Regions from separate parts of the Homo sapiens genome. Here region 1 is linked to region 2. The links are contacts of gene promoters, found by promoter capture Hi-C in blood cells and fetal thymus (Javierre and others, 2016). All regions are on one chromosome and are shown on one strand. The core of a region is centred on a gene start or on the middle of the fragment in contact, and the rest is flanking DNA. Distances in the headings are between cores, read along the strand shown. Region 1 holds the start of RAB20 (RAB20, member RAS oncogene family). Region 2 holds the start of MIR17HG (miR-17-92a-1 cluster host gene).

What was found. Contacts are between HindIII fragments. The CHiCAGO score rates a contact against its expected background, and 5 or more counts as called.
Region 1: the fragment with the promoter of RAB20 here is called in contact with the fragment with the promoter of MIR17HG in region 2 in 1 of 17 cell types (non-activated CD4 T cells); the score reaches 5.0 in non-activated CD4 T cells.

Annotation. Positions count from the first base shown.
Region 1 is chr13:110,556,540-110,562,971 of GRCh38, forward strand. It overlaps RAB20 (RAB20, member RAS oncogene family), which reads right to left and starts at 5,183. Exons shown (of 2, transcript NM_017817.3): 1 at 4,809-5,183. The coding sequence starts at 4,980. RefSeq lists enhancers at 855-1,378, 1,379-1,901 and silencers at 4,743-4,802, 4,782-4,971, 4,863-5,312. The HindIII fragment of the contact is 2,254 bases long and covers 3,487-5,740 here.
Region 2 is chr13:91,342,794-91,349,682 of GRCh38, forward strand. It overlaps MIR17HG (miR-17-92a-1 cluster host gene), which reads left to right and starts at 4,894. Exons shown (of 3, transcript NR_197388.1): 1 at 4,894-5,166. RefSeq lists enhancers at 4,383-4,462, 5,932-6,479, 6,480-6,889 and silencers at 4,563-5,342, 5,393-6,382. The HindIII fragment of the contact is 6,871 bases long and covers 3,074-6,889 here.

The sequences.
Region 1 (6,432 bases), core at 3,933-6,432, about 19 Mb after region 2:
ATTTATTCATTTGAGACAGGGTCTTACTCTGTTGCCCAGGCTGGAGTGCAGTGGTATGATCATGGCTCACTGCAGCCTCAACCTCCCAGGCTCAAGAAATCCTCTTACCTCAGCCTCCCAAGTAGCTGGGACTACAGGTGCGCACCACTACACCTGGCTAACTTCTTTATTCTTTGTAGAAACCGTCTCCCTGTGTTGCCCAGGCTGGTCTTGAACTCCTAGGTTCAGGTGATCCTTTCACTTCAGCCTCCTAAAATGCTGGGATTACAGGCAGGAGCTACCATGCCCAGCAAATTTGTGTTGTTTTAAGTAACTAATTTGTTATAGCAGCAATAGGAAACTGACACAGACTTTGGAACTGGGAGCAGAGAGAGGCTGTCACGAATATGGAAGTGGCTTTAGAACTGGGCAATGGCAGATCTGGGAGGATCTGAGGATCATGAGAGGGCAGCCCGGATTGGCCTAAACAGATGGTTGGCAGGAAGGTGCACATGAACAGCCCTGCTGGTGAGGAATCAGAAGGAAGCGAGAAGCATAGCAGAGAAAACCTGCATCCTCGTAGTGAACACCTCCACCAGAAGGAGCCAATTACAGGTGGAAGCCTGGGGTCTGAATGAGGACTGTGTTATCAGAAGCTGGAGGAGGGAGGATGTGGTGCCAGAGAGCTCAGCTGAGTCGTGCCCCACAGCTGTGAGGGAAGCATCACTGTGTGATGAAGTTGGATATGTAGCTGAGGAGATTTCCAAGCAAAGTGTTGAAGGTGTGGATTTTTCTTGCTGTTTATATTAAGATGAGGAAGAACAGATAGGATGAGGGAAGAATTGTCGAACAAAGAGGAGCAGGACTTGGTGATGTGGGAAGTCCTCAGTCAGGCAGATTGCTGGGAGGCTCACACTAGGAGGCCCACCATCCGGAACGCCTGTGCTGGAGAGGAGGCCCTGGTGTGGCCACATAACCTTCTGCTGGTGCCTCAGAAGGACCCAAAGGCCAGAGGACTCTCAAGAGACCAAGATGTCTCATCTTTGCGGTGGCCACTATTCTGTCTGTCACAGCCTGGCTTCAGGCTCCCACAGACGTGCATCCATTCCACATGCAAAATGCACTCACTCTCTCCAACACCCAGTCCCCAGAGACGCAGCTGGAGCTGGATGCCGGCACAGGGAAGTGGCGCAAGTCTGGGCTCCCCGCCGCCTTCCAAGCTGGCTCTTCAAGGGCCAGGTGCTGGGGATGCAAACGTGAGTCAGGTAATGCCCCTGCTCCCCCCGCCTCCCGGCCGCCAGGCCACGGCCTTTAGAAGGGAAGGAAAACAAATGTGGAGAGCATTCTGTCTCCAGGGCTCTGGGGACCAGGTCTGTGCTGGGCACACCAGCCGCTTTCTCATCAGCCTGTCGTATTTTCTTCAGAGCAACGATCAGATGTGAAGCTGTACCATTCACTTCTTGCCTGCCTTTCCCCCTCCTCTGGAATCCAGGGCCTGCGGGGCAGCGGCCAGCCGGCCTGCTCACTGCTGTAGAACGAGGGCCCAAACAGTGCCCGGCACCGGGGAGCCTCAGTTTATATTTGCCAACAACAGGCAACACCACTTTAGGCTGTCCTGAGCAACCGGGCAACACAGAGGAGCACAGCAGTACGTCTTCTAGGGCTCTGCCTCCTCGCTGGGCAACCTCCTTTTGCTTCCTGGATGTACCCACCCATGCACAGCAACCACTCCACATCTGTGTGCCCAATTAGACAAGGGCTGGGAGTGGCAAGTGCCCCCTAAAAGGGCATAATGAGACAAGGTGAGTTGGAGTTGGATGAACCAAGGTCTAAATCCCACTTAACTTCTGCTGTCTTCCCACTTTTTTTTTTTTTTTTTTTTGAGACAGAGTCTTACTCTTGTCACCCAGGCTGGAGTGCAATGGCGCAATCTTGGCTCACTGCAACCTCCGCCTCCAGGGTTCAAGCGATTCTCCTGCCACAGCCTCCCAAGTAGCTAGGATTACAGGCGCCAGCCACCACACCCAGCTAATTTTTGTATTTTTAGTAGACACGGGTTCACCACATTAACCAGGCTGGTCTTGAACTCCTGACCTTAGGTGATCTGCCCGCCTCACCCTCCTAAAGTGCTGGGATTACAGGCATGAGCCACCGCGCAGCCCTGTCTTCCCATCTGTTTTTTTTTTTTTTTTTTTTTTTGAGACAGAGTCTCGCTCTGTCACCGGGTTGGAGTGCAGTGGCACAATCTTGGCTCACTGCAACCTCTGCCTCCTGGTTCAAGCGATTCTCCTGCCTCAGCCTCCCGAGTAGCTGGGACTACAGGTGTGCGCCACCACGCCCTGCTAACTTTTGTATGTTTAGTAGAGATGGGGTTTCACCATGTTAGCCAGGATGGTCTTGATCTCTTGACCTCGTGATCCACCCACCTCAGCCTCCCAAAGTGCTGGGATTACAGGCATGAGCCACCACGCCTGGCCCCATCTTTAACATGCAAATAATCACACCTCCCTCTGGAGGACTGTTGTGTCAATGGAATAGGGTAATGTACTTCTGCCCTGCCAACTCTCTTCCCCCTCTTCAGCTCCATCCACTGCCTGCCTTGCAGGCTACAAGCAGCCAGGCATTGGGTGTACACTGACCCCCATGCAATCGTTTTTACTATTAAACATCCTGTCGCCCTCTGCACACCTGCACCCCCACCCCAGCCCACCCTGCCTTGTGTGGCTAAAAGCAACTTTCAAAATGGTTCCTCCTCCGGCTGGTCCTTACCATTCTGCCTCGGTTATGACAATTACAACAAAAACAACTTGAAAAGCAATGTCTGTGGGGTGGAGAGAAAGTTTAGGAGCTCAGCAAAAGAAGGAAAAGAACAGGGTCCCCTAAATGTTAAATTCTGAATTTCCAACAATTATAGAAAAGGTATCTGTTCCTACCTCTCTTTTCCCTTCAAGTACCCGGTCAGGCCACAGGCCACCGAGGAGGCAGGCAAGGGTGCCCTGTGTCCCTGCCAACTCTGGGCAAGGGCCGCCTGAGTGTGTACACAGGAAGTCAGGAATGTGGAGAAGGGGCCTGGCCACTCTCTGTTCTGAGGAGCTCTAGTAATTCACCCTTAGGATCTTTCGAACAAGCAGCAGCAGCCTCGGATGCCAGGAAATGAGCTGCTGCCCCCCAGTAACGCTTCAAGACATCTGGGGCGTCACATCAGCACAACTGCAAAATCTCTGGTGATCAGGATTCCGGCTGCATCACGTCCTTGGTGCTGAAGAAGCAAGAGGCCAGTGGAAACGAAACTGCTGCTTCATTCCCTCCGATGCAGGGGCCGTTCCAGCACTGCAGGGCAGCTCTTGTTCCAGAAACACACCGTGTGTTAAGAGTCTGCCTCCAACGGTGGCCACTACAGGGGTTTCGGTTAGGGTCCCCCAATAACACTCCTGCATTAACCTTGCTACTTGTAAACCAAGGGCAGCAGTAAATCCCAGCCAACCAGCAAAAGCAGCAGAGGGGCAAAGCTTTGTACAAAACCAAATTGGGTTCAATTTGACTTTGTACAGAAGCAAATTGGGTTCGTGAATTGGGTTCGATTTGACTTCTAGAGCGTGTGTTCCATCGTTACCAAATGCTCAGTGTGAGGGAGTCAGCTCAGTAAACCTCATCCTGCAGCCTGAGGCAGAAGACAGAGTTGGAGCAAAGATCAGGGAAATGCACCTCTTTACCTGGGGGACATTGTTTTCACAAGATGATTGCCAATAAATTAGTCACGATGTTAACTGGGATAATAATAAAAAAGCATCAAAGAAGGCAAAAGGGAGGGGGAGAACTGGAAGTACCTCTGTGAGCTTCGTTAATTCAGTTTTAAAGAGAGAATTCATTATCATCTTGTTTATTCAGCATACTGATACACCCAAGATGGCAATTTAAGAATTCTGGACGGGGCCTTTGGGTATATGACTTTTTAAGATGCTAACATAAAAGAAGTCAGAACTTTCAGAGTTTCAGGCTTCTAAAAACTCACACTCATTGAAAATGTGTCACACTATTTCCAGTTTCTTCATTCACTTACAATATCTTATTCTTTTGTAAGGAGAAGGAAATATATTCCATTGCAATGCTACAATCACCAGTGTTATTTTCCAAAGTTAAACAGAAAGCCTGAATTGAGATCCTCTAAGTTGTACTTTTGAAAAGTCACAAATACTACACAATAAAAATAACTCATTACCTATCTTAAAAATGCTTCCACCGGAAGTCACTCCAACCCAAACCCATATGACGTATCTGAGCCAAGATCAAGCAGAAGATTAACTGTAAAAGGCAGATATGCTCCGGGCTAAGAGGTCCGGAGGCTCCAGTTTTATTTCCTCTCTCCTGACTAAACCCAACAGGGGGGAACACTCTGTGCCTCATTTTACTTTTTCTTAGAAAGGGGCTAATAACACCAGCTCTGCTCACCCCTCAAGTGAATCTCAAAGGATATCATGTTCCTACGGGTACGTGAAAACTGAAAATACCTAACAAAGCAGCCACAGAGGAGCGTCTCTGGTTCCCAGGGCGGCAGAGCAGGAACGCGGGGCTCGGGAGCAAAGGCAGCTTAGGTACACAAATGACCAGCGGGTTCTCTGCAACTTGGGTTGTCCCTGAGGTCACTGAGTGGCTGAGAGGCAGCGCTCAGCCCAACCAGCAAGGGAGGACGAGTGGGAAACCCCGAGAAGGAGGCATTTGCTGTCCGAGGCCGGGACCCTGTGCGCGGCCGGGTGCCCTGCTGGAAGCCCCGCGCCCCCCGTCCCCGGCGGAGCCCCAGGGCGGTGTGGCTCATGCGGCGCCGGCCTCACCTGCGGTGTCCCAGATGGAGATGTTGTAGGAGCGCCACTGCTTCAGGTAGAAGGCGCCGCCCACCGTGCTGACCGTGTCCGGGAAGCGCCGCTCCATATACCGCTGCAGCAGCGACGTCTTCCCCACGTTCATGTCCCCCAGGAGCACGATCTTGCTGTCGGGCTTCCTCATCTTCCCGTAAGAACCCCCAGCGCCCCCGCGCCCTCTCCCCGAGGCTGGCCGGCTCGTGCGCCCTGGGCGCAGCTGGAGGAGCGGACCCCGGACTCGCCGGGACCCGGATTCTCGTGAACGCTCCGGGACCTTCGCCTCCGGACGCCCGGGAGCTCAAGAGAGGAAGCGCGTGTGCGCGCCCGGGAAGGAGCTGGGTGCAGAGCACGGAGCCCACGTCGGGGGCCCGGACCGCGGCGGCCTCGCCTCGCCCCGCCCCCGCCCCCGCCCCCGGGCCCTTTCACCGCCGCGGCCCCGCCCTATCCTCCTCCGCCCACCGCCCCCGTCCCGCCCCTGCTGGACCTCGCCGTTTCGCAAGCATCCGAGTTCTCCAGCCGAGGCTCGGGACTGCTGCAGGGTGGAAAATGAAAGTTCTGAGAGCACCTTCCGCCCCTCCGCTTCTGCACAGCCGGGGCTGCGGTGCGAGGAGCTTGGCCGCGGGGCCCGAACGAGGCGAAGGGGCCGGGGCCCTTGGGGAACCCCCTTCTCTCTTCCACTCTCCCTTAGGTAAAACCCGTGTTCCTCTCACGCTCGACCCAGCGCCTTTCCAGCTGCGGTCGATTTGCTTCTCCGCGTGTAAGTACAGCCACCCTCAAGGTCATTGAAAAAGTTTGCTTTAAATGAGCGTCTGCGGAACTCGTCCTGAGGCTCTCACTGTTACAGATTAGAGATGGGGGCGCTTTCTAGTGGAGGATTTTGCTTTTGCTCTTCTACTTTTGCAAGAAGCTTTTTGTCCTGAAAAGTGGACAGTCATCTCCATTTATAGCTTGGAATGAAAATTTGACTATGGAAGTTGCAGTCGCTACTTGAGAAATATTTCCTCCTTCTTTTTTTTTTTTTTTTTTTATTTTTGACACGGAGTTTTGCTGTTGTTGCCCAAGCTGGAGAGCAGTGCGCGATCTCGGCTCACTGCAACCTCCGCCTTCCGGTTTCAAGCGATTCTCCTGCCTCAGCCTCCCGAGTAGGCGGGATTACAGGTATGTGCCACCATGCCCGGCTAATTTTTGTATTTTTAGTAGACACGGGGTTTCACCATGTTGGCCAGGCTGGTCTCGAACTCCTGACCTCGTGATCCACCCGCTTCGGCCTCCCAGGTCCTCCTTCCGTTTTAAAGGATAAACCTTGAAATGCTTTTAAAATATGCAGCGTGTAGAATTTGGTTAGTTGGTTGGTTGGGGTTTTTTAGAGAAAATGAGAGGTAGAATGGACTCTAAGTTAAACCCTGGGGGACAGTGTCACTCTGGCCGCTGGCCTGGCTGGGAAAGGCGATGAGACCCTGAGCAGGTTAAAACCCGTGTCCTGAAGGTGTCCTGTAAAGGGAAATAGGCCCGTTGCCTCCTTCGTAGGTGCCCTGAGACTCCGACAAGGCAGGAATGCCAAGGTATTTCGTACCTGCTCAGCCCTGGCATGTCAGGT
Region 2 (6,889 bases), core at 3,644-6,143:
AGCAATTGAACCTTCATAAATATTCCTTCTGAACACGTTGCTATCCAACTTTTAAAGTGCCCCCAGAAAGGCAAATTATTAAAGATATAAATAACCCATCACAATTTACACAAAATAAAAATAAATTTTCATCATCTTGATATACATAGAAATTATTAGGCTTGATGGTTAAGATGAATATTGGTACTTAAGTATAGTTTTGTGAAATAGTAGGACAACTGTCAAATTTGTGTTATTTTGAGCAATCTTAAGGACCAAATTATATAATCAATATCTTAAGTTGTTTCTAGAACTATTATCTAGCAGAATACAGCCACATGATAGGCTGAATCAACTTGTTTCTTCTGGGAAAAACTGAAGGTAAATCCTACATTTGAAAGCAAGAATATTAAAACAAACAAACAAGCAAACACACAAACAAGAAAAACCTAAGAAGAGTTTAGAAAATTGAATGAAATTAACTAAAATCAGTAGTATTTGGCAATTTCTCTGCCCTGGACACTTCTTGTTGTTGTCTTTTATTATTTAAAAAAAATTTGTGGATGATCCAGGTGATCTCTACGTAGCCCTTTTTCACTGCTAAGTGATTGAGAACAAATTCAATTTATCATATCTAAACATGTCCACTCCAGAGAATTTTTTTCAAACATAACACAATCCATGTGAGGAATAATTTTTCCAAGATTAAGTATATTTGTTAGTTAAATTAAACTTCAACCCCAGATAGCAAAGATATAACAGCACTCTAATTACCAATGTGTCTTCCCAAACAAGGTTACTACAGTGTAAGGCATTAAGTTTTCAGAATTATTTCTGAAGGTTTTCTGTCTCTCTTTTTTTTAAACTTTATGCCCATAACTCCTTGATGAAGGAGTTGCAATATCCTGGGCCAGTTTCTCATTGCTTCCTTATGTGTTAATTAATAACATACATATGCAATAGAGATAAAAACAGGCACAAACATTTATCAAGATTAATCAGCTAATAGTAATGATTAATCAAACATTTTTATTTCATTCAAGAACTAAGTACCAGAGCTTGTCAGTCGTGATTCATATAAGTATGACCAGGGAATTTTTTGAAAAGGATTTTGGCCCCACTTCTTACCACCTAAATTAGAATATCTGCAAGTAAGGGTCACACATTTGCATGTTTCAAAGGCTCTTGGTTGATTGTAAAGTACAGCTGGGCTGGGAACCACTGAGTTAAGAACAAGAAATTGAAAATAAGCCATTTCCAATTTTGATGTTTCATTCTTCTAGTGAAAACAAATGAAAAACTAGTGAAACACTTTACCACGATGTACCATAACAATATATTGCCTTTAAATGTTTAAATTCAAAATGTATTAGTTTTATAAAAGCCATACCACTTTACATATACTGATAGACATCAATGCATAGCAAACTTCCTTAAGGGTAGAGACTGTATCCTCTTTATTGTGACAAATAATACCTATTCTGTCTATTTTTCTTAATTAAATAATAATTATACCCATCTGGTTCTACAGAGTACCACAGTAACAACTTCAAAGATATGAAAACAGAGTAATTTTTTCAAATTGCTTCTTTATTCAAAACCACACACGTTCATTTTTCCCTCTATAATTTATAATTTCTTAATTCCAAAACCTTAAGTCTATCAGGTTAAATGATTATGGTCTTTGTGTTCACTATAAATTTATTGTCATTAGTAGCATCTTGGAATGTCATTTGTAGTGAATAATTCATATATTCATGTTATGCAGGATTATCTACTACCATAAACAAAATGCAGATGTTCTAAATTCTAAATTAAGGATGTAAAATAACCTGCCATCAGAATAACAGTTGGATTAGACATTGGAACAAGTAAAAAAAAAAAAAGGTTGAAGACATGAAATCTTCAGCTTATTTGTGAAAGATTCGTGGTAATCAATAATATTCTGGAGTTCCTAAACTTTTCATGGACACGGGTTCTGTCTTATCCCTCCTTATATCTTTGACCAGTGCAAGCATAGCAGACACATAATACATAATTGCTAAAGTGGACCGAACAGTTTCAATGGAAAACATAATTAATATGGGAGGACTAGACTGTGTCTTTTCAGACATTTATAGATATATATTGTAAAAAAAATCCCAAATTTCATCATTGAATGTGTGTTATTGATTACTGTTTGCTACATTACAAGAGTCCAAAATGTTCTCAGTTTATAACCAGTTCACTTTCTGAACTCAACGTGGTGTTTAAATTTGTATTCCTTTTCCGTAAAATACAAATGCTGTGGGAAAATAATACATACTTATAGGCATCTATGTTAAAAATGCCAATTCGCAAAAATATGAAATATACTTAATTGCTTAGCCAATTTTTAGACCCTCTGAATTACTATTTAAATTATATATAAATACAGGTTTAAAATAACACTAGAAGTTGTCTTTAACTTAGATTCTTGCATCATTCCTATGTTTTCACATCTATAATGTGAATGTGATTATTGTTTTATTAGTTTCTTAAATTCTATAATTATGCTAAAACACAACATTTTAACTGAATTTATCTTTCAAAAATTCAACACATTTAACTCAGTTGATACTGACATAGTTAAACAATAAAAGGTAGGAAATAAAATCCTCAATATTATTTACAAGGTCAATAACTTTTCAGATCTTCTTAATTCATAACATCTATAAGACCGAAACACATGGGTAAAAAGTAAAAAATACAGATATTCTCTATTACTTTCTATATATCATGTAAACTGAGGGCTATATAGAACTGCTCTGACGTTGAACTGAGCTTTTCATTTTATCTAAAACGTTCTGAATGTTCTGGATTGTGTAAAACAGTACTGTGTTTTAGCTGACTTGAGAAGGCTGTGTGTCTCACTTTGGCATTTCAGATTGCTTTATTTTTACATTCCTTGGTTGCAGAAGGCATTTGTTAGCAGTTCACATATTTTTGTGATCTTCAAAATTATAACCACAAAAATCTTCCCTTTAGTTATCAAGTATACCCAAGTGTGGCCCCTAAAATCAGGGAAGATAGGTTTCTCACTAGTAGTGACTTCCAAAAAACATCAAGTTGGCTAAGCTTCAAATTCATTTGGGATTAAAACGTTTTCAATTATTCTAATTATACTTAAGATAATTTATTAATTTTGAAAGGAAGTATGAGCGAAACCCTTAAAATGCAACCTACTAATTCTGAAACTTTCTGGAATTTCCAAGTCAGTAGGTTTAAATGAATTTGCGTCTTCCAAAATCCTGATTACCATAAAAAAGGGTATACATTAAGAATTATTTCTTATACTGTAGTCACAGAAAATAGTTGCTTGTATGTCAGATTTCCACAGAAATATAGTGAGATACCTAAAAACAGCTTTTTAAAGCTAGTAGTATTTCAATGTTGACTTTAATTGGAAGGAAACTATGAGATGAATAACTCCTGCTAAGAAACCTGTATATAGGTGGGATTTCCCATGATTCAGAGAGTGTGATGAACAATCTTACTCACAACATCCCCCCGCCTCAACCATTCTAATTTGAAACAGAAGATAAAGTTTTAAAGAAAAAGGCATTGACATATTAGTCAATGCCGACCAAAAGTAACGTAAAATTAGACTTGTAATAAAATTAGCAGTGTTTTCCTCTTTGAAACGTTCATAAATGACTATATTACAGAAATATTAGATATTGTAAAATTTCAGATTTGGCCTTTTATTTTGATTTACAAAGAAAGGAATATCTAGAAACTAGACTCAATAAAAAAAAGAGTAGCAAAACTTTAATCCACTATTTTTTATGTCATCACTAGTTTGACAATTGGATTTAAGCAAAGCATGATAAAATAAGTCAAAGACAGTAAATGACAATACTGTCAAGGTTTGAATGTCAAAAATTTTAACATTGGGGCATTAAAGACATCCTTTGGTAATGTGTGTTTTACAGTTGACTTGTACAATCACGAACCAGTGATATGTGCTTTGCAGTAGCTACTTACTAGATTTAAACCAATTTATAATTGCTGTATTTCTCGTAAATGTTATGAATCCTCACTTTTAACAATTATGTTTCTGAGAATTCCGGAATTTCCTGAACCACAATGTGAAGAAGGAGGTGCTCCTGATTGGGCTTCTTTTCTCAGCTTTGTGGTTGTTTATGAGGTTCTTTCCGAGCTATGCTATTTCTACTGGAGAACCCAGAGTTCTTACTAAATGCAGCTGGGCATGAGAGGGGAGGCTCAGGTACTGCAGCTGTGAAACCTCTGCTCGGGCATGCGTTTTGGTTTACACGCGGCCAGGTTAAGGAAACACATTGCCACGAAGTGTGCATTCACAAGAGTGTCGGGTGTAATGTATTTATTTCTGGGTCTCAAACGATCTTTGCAGCGAGTAATTCTGTTTCGATGTTAAAGTCACTGGATTTTACTTCTCTGGTTCCGGTTGGCCTGGAGCAGGCCCCTAATTACCTCGGAAACCCACCAAGGGCCGGTAAAGTAATAAACTGTGATCGCACAGCGTACACGTCGAGTCCCAGGGAGAGCAGGGCTCCCAGGAAGCCCCGGGAAGCGTGCGCTTCCAGGAGGGTGTGCGGCGCGCGGGGGTCTGCACGCGCGCAGAGCTTGTTAACGGAGGGCGTGCCGGAGGCGTGGCGCGAGGTGTTCGGGCGAGGCGCTCCGCGAGGCTGGCGGCGGTGGGCGGGCCACGGGGGAGCGCGGCCCGGGGAAGGCTGCGCGGCGCCGCCAGCGGCTCCCGGCTCCCGCTCTCCCGGCCGCCAAGAACGAGCCGCCGTGGGCGGGGCCTGCGGTGATTGGCGGGCGGGCGGGGAGGTCGGAAGTACTTTGTTTTTTATGCTAATGAGGGAGTGGGGCTTGTCCGTATTTACGTTGAGGCGGGAGCCGCCGCCCTTCATTCACCCACATGGTCCTTCGAGGTGCCGCCGCCGCCGCCCGACCTGCGCCTTCGCGCCACTTCGCGCCCTCGGGCGAGGCCGAGGGGGTGGGGACGACTACCGCAGCGCCGCCGGGGCTCGCGCTCCTCCGCGAAGCTCTCCTCGCGGGGCGGGCCGGCCGGCCGCACCCCCGGCCTGGGGCCTCCGGTCGTAGTAAAGCGCAGGCGGGCGGGGAGGCGGGAGCAGGAGCCCGCGGCCGGCCAGCCGAAGATGGTGGCGGCTACTCCTCCTGGTGAGTCTGCCCGCCCCTCCGGCGACGGAGGGAAACCTGTTGTGTGCGGCCCGGGTCTGGCGGGCGGGGCGGAGCGGCCCGGGGCGGACTGGCCCGGGGCAGCGTGGCGGCGGCGGCGTGGCCGGGGCGGGTCTCGGCCGTTGGCCGCCCCGGCGTGTGGCAGCCGCATCTGGCTGCCCCCTCGCTCGCCCGCGGGCCGGCGGAGGGGGGCAGGGCCGGGGCGGGAGGGTGGGAGGGGGCGGCGTGCGCGTGGCGGCCGCGCCCGGGACCCGCGCAGACCCTGCCTGGGCCGACCCGAAGGCGGGTGGGCGGACGGCGAACACAATGGCCCCTCGGGGAGAGGACGTGCGAGGCCCGTGCCTTCTCCGGGGCCCGGGGCGCGCGCGGGGCGTGGGGTCTCTGGGTAGGAAAGTTTCTCCCGAGGGCGAGAGTTAAAGCGCCTCCAGAACAAAGCGGCGGCGGCGGCGGCACATGGGGCAGGCCGCGGGCCGGGAGGGGGCGCGCCCACGAGGTACCTGCGCGCCAGCGGGCGGCGTGGCGTGGGCGGGAGCCCGCGGTTCCCCAAACTTTGTACGCGCGAGGGTGGGCGGAGGGGCGCCGAGATCGGCGCGGCCTGGGCGCCACCCCCGCTCCGCGTGGGCTTTGTTAGCCCGCGTGGGCAGCCTCGGGGCGGGGCCCGCAACTTCCCCGCCGTGGCCCTCGGAGGAGGCCGCAGTCGGCCTCAGCCGCGGCGTGGAGCCGCCTGCGCCCGGCCGCTTGCTGGGAGTGTGGCGCGGGAGGGCCAGCCCGGCTCGGCGGGAGCGGCGTCCCCGCCGCCATGTTCCTGCGGGGCGGGCTGCACGGGGGTGAGGGCGGGGGACATGGCGGCGACTGCGCGCCGCCGCCGATTGTTCCCGGCTTAGGCCTCGGGCCGCGTGCGACGGGCACCGCGGCCGCGGAGCCCCCGCCCCTCTGGGCCGGGCTCGGGGGGGCTGGGGGACACAAAGGAGGGGCGGCGCGCCCGCGTCCCCGCCGCACTCGGGCCTCGGCGCCGCCGGTCGCCGCGCGGCTGCCGCCGGGAAACGGGTTGGGGGGGTTGCCGCGTCCGGCGGGGCCTGACTCTGACCCGCCGCCCCCTGGCGGCTACGCGGAGAATCGCAGGGCCGCGCTCCCCCTTGTGCGACATGTGCTGCCGGCCCGGGCTCCATGAGCGTGGCGGGCACTTTGCAGTCTCGGGTGTTCCTGCCCGGTCTTCTGTTCCTAAACTGCAGCAAAGGGAAAAGGAACTGAAAAAGGCAGGCTCGTCGTTGCAATATCACCAAAAGAGAAAATTAACGGCATGCCATCAGGACCACAGCAGTTGGAGAAACAACTCTTTATCCCGGCTTGCAGCCACGAGGTCTTGATTGGGGGAGGGGTGGTGAAGAATAGTCTGTGGGCTGCTTTTTTTTTTTCCTTTTACTGGAGCTGTACAGTGGAGTCGGTGATTGCTGCTGATCATAATCAAGTATTTTAGGAGCTTATTTAGACATGTATCTGATAGCTAAGGATTTTTCAACTTTATTCTCTTACGTATTTTTCAACTGTAAATTATTGGGCTTTTAAATCCTGCTAGTATTGCTCGACTCTTACTCTCACAAATGGATGGAATTAATTGCTGTTAGGAGGTTGGAAAATAGCAAATATAGATTTGGACGGTGGTAGTAATTTTGAGCAAATAATGTTTTATCTTTTTTTTCCTTAT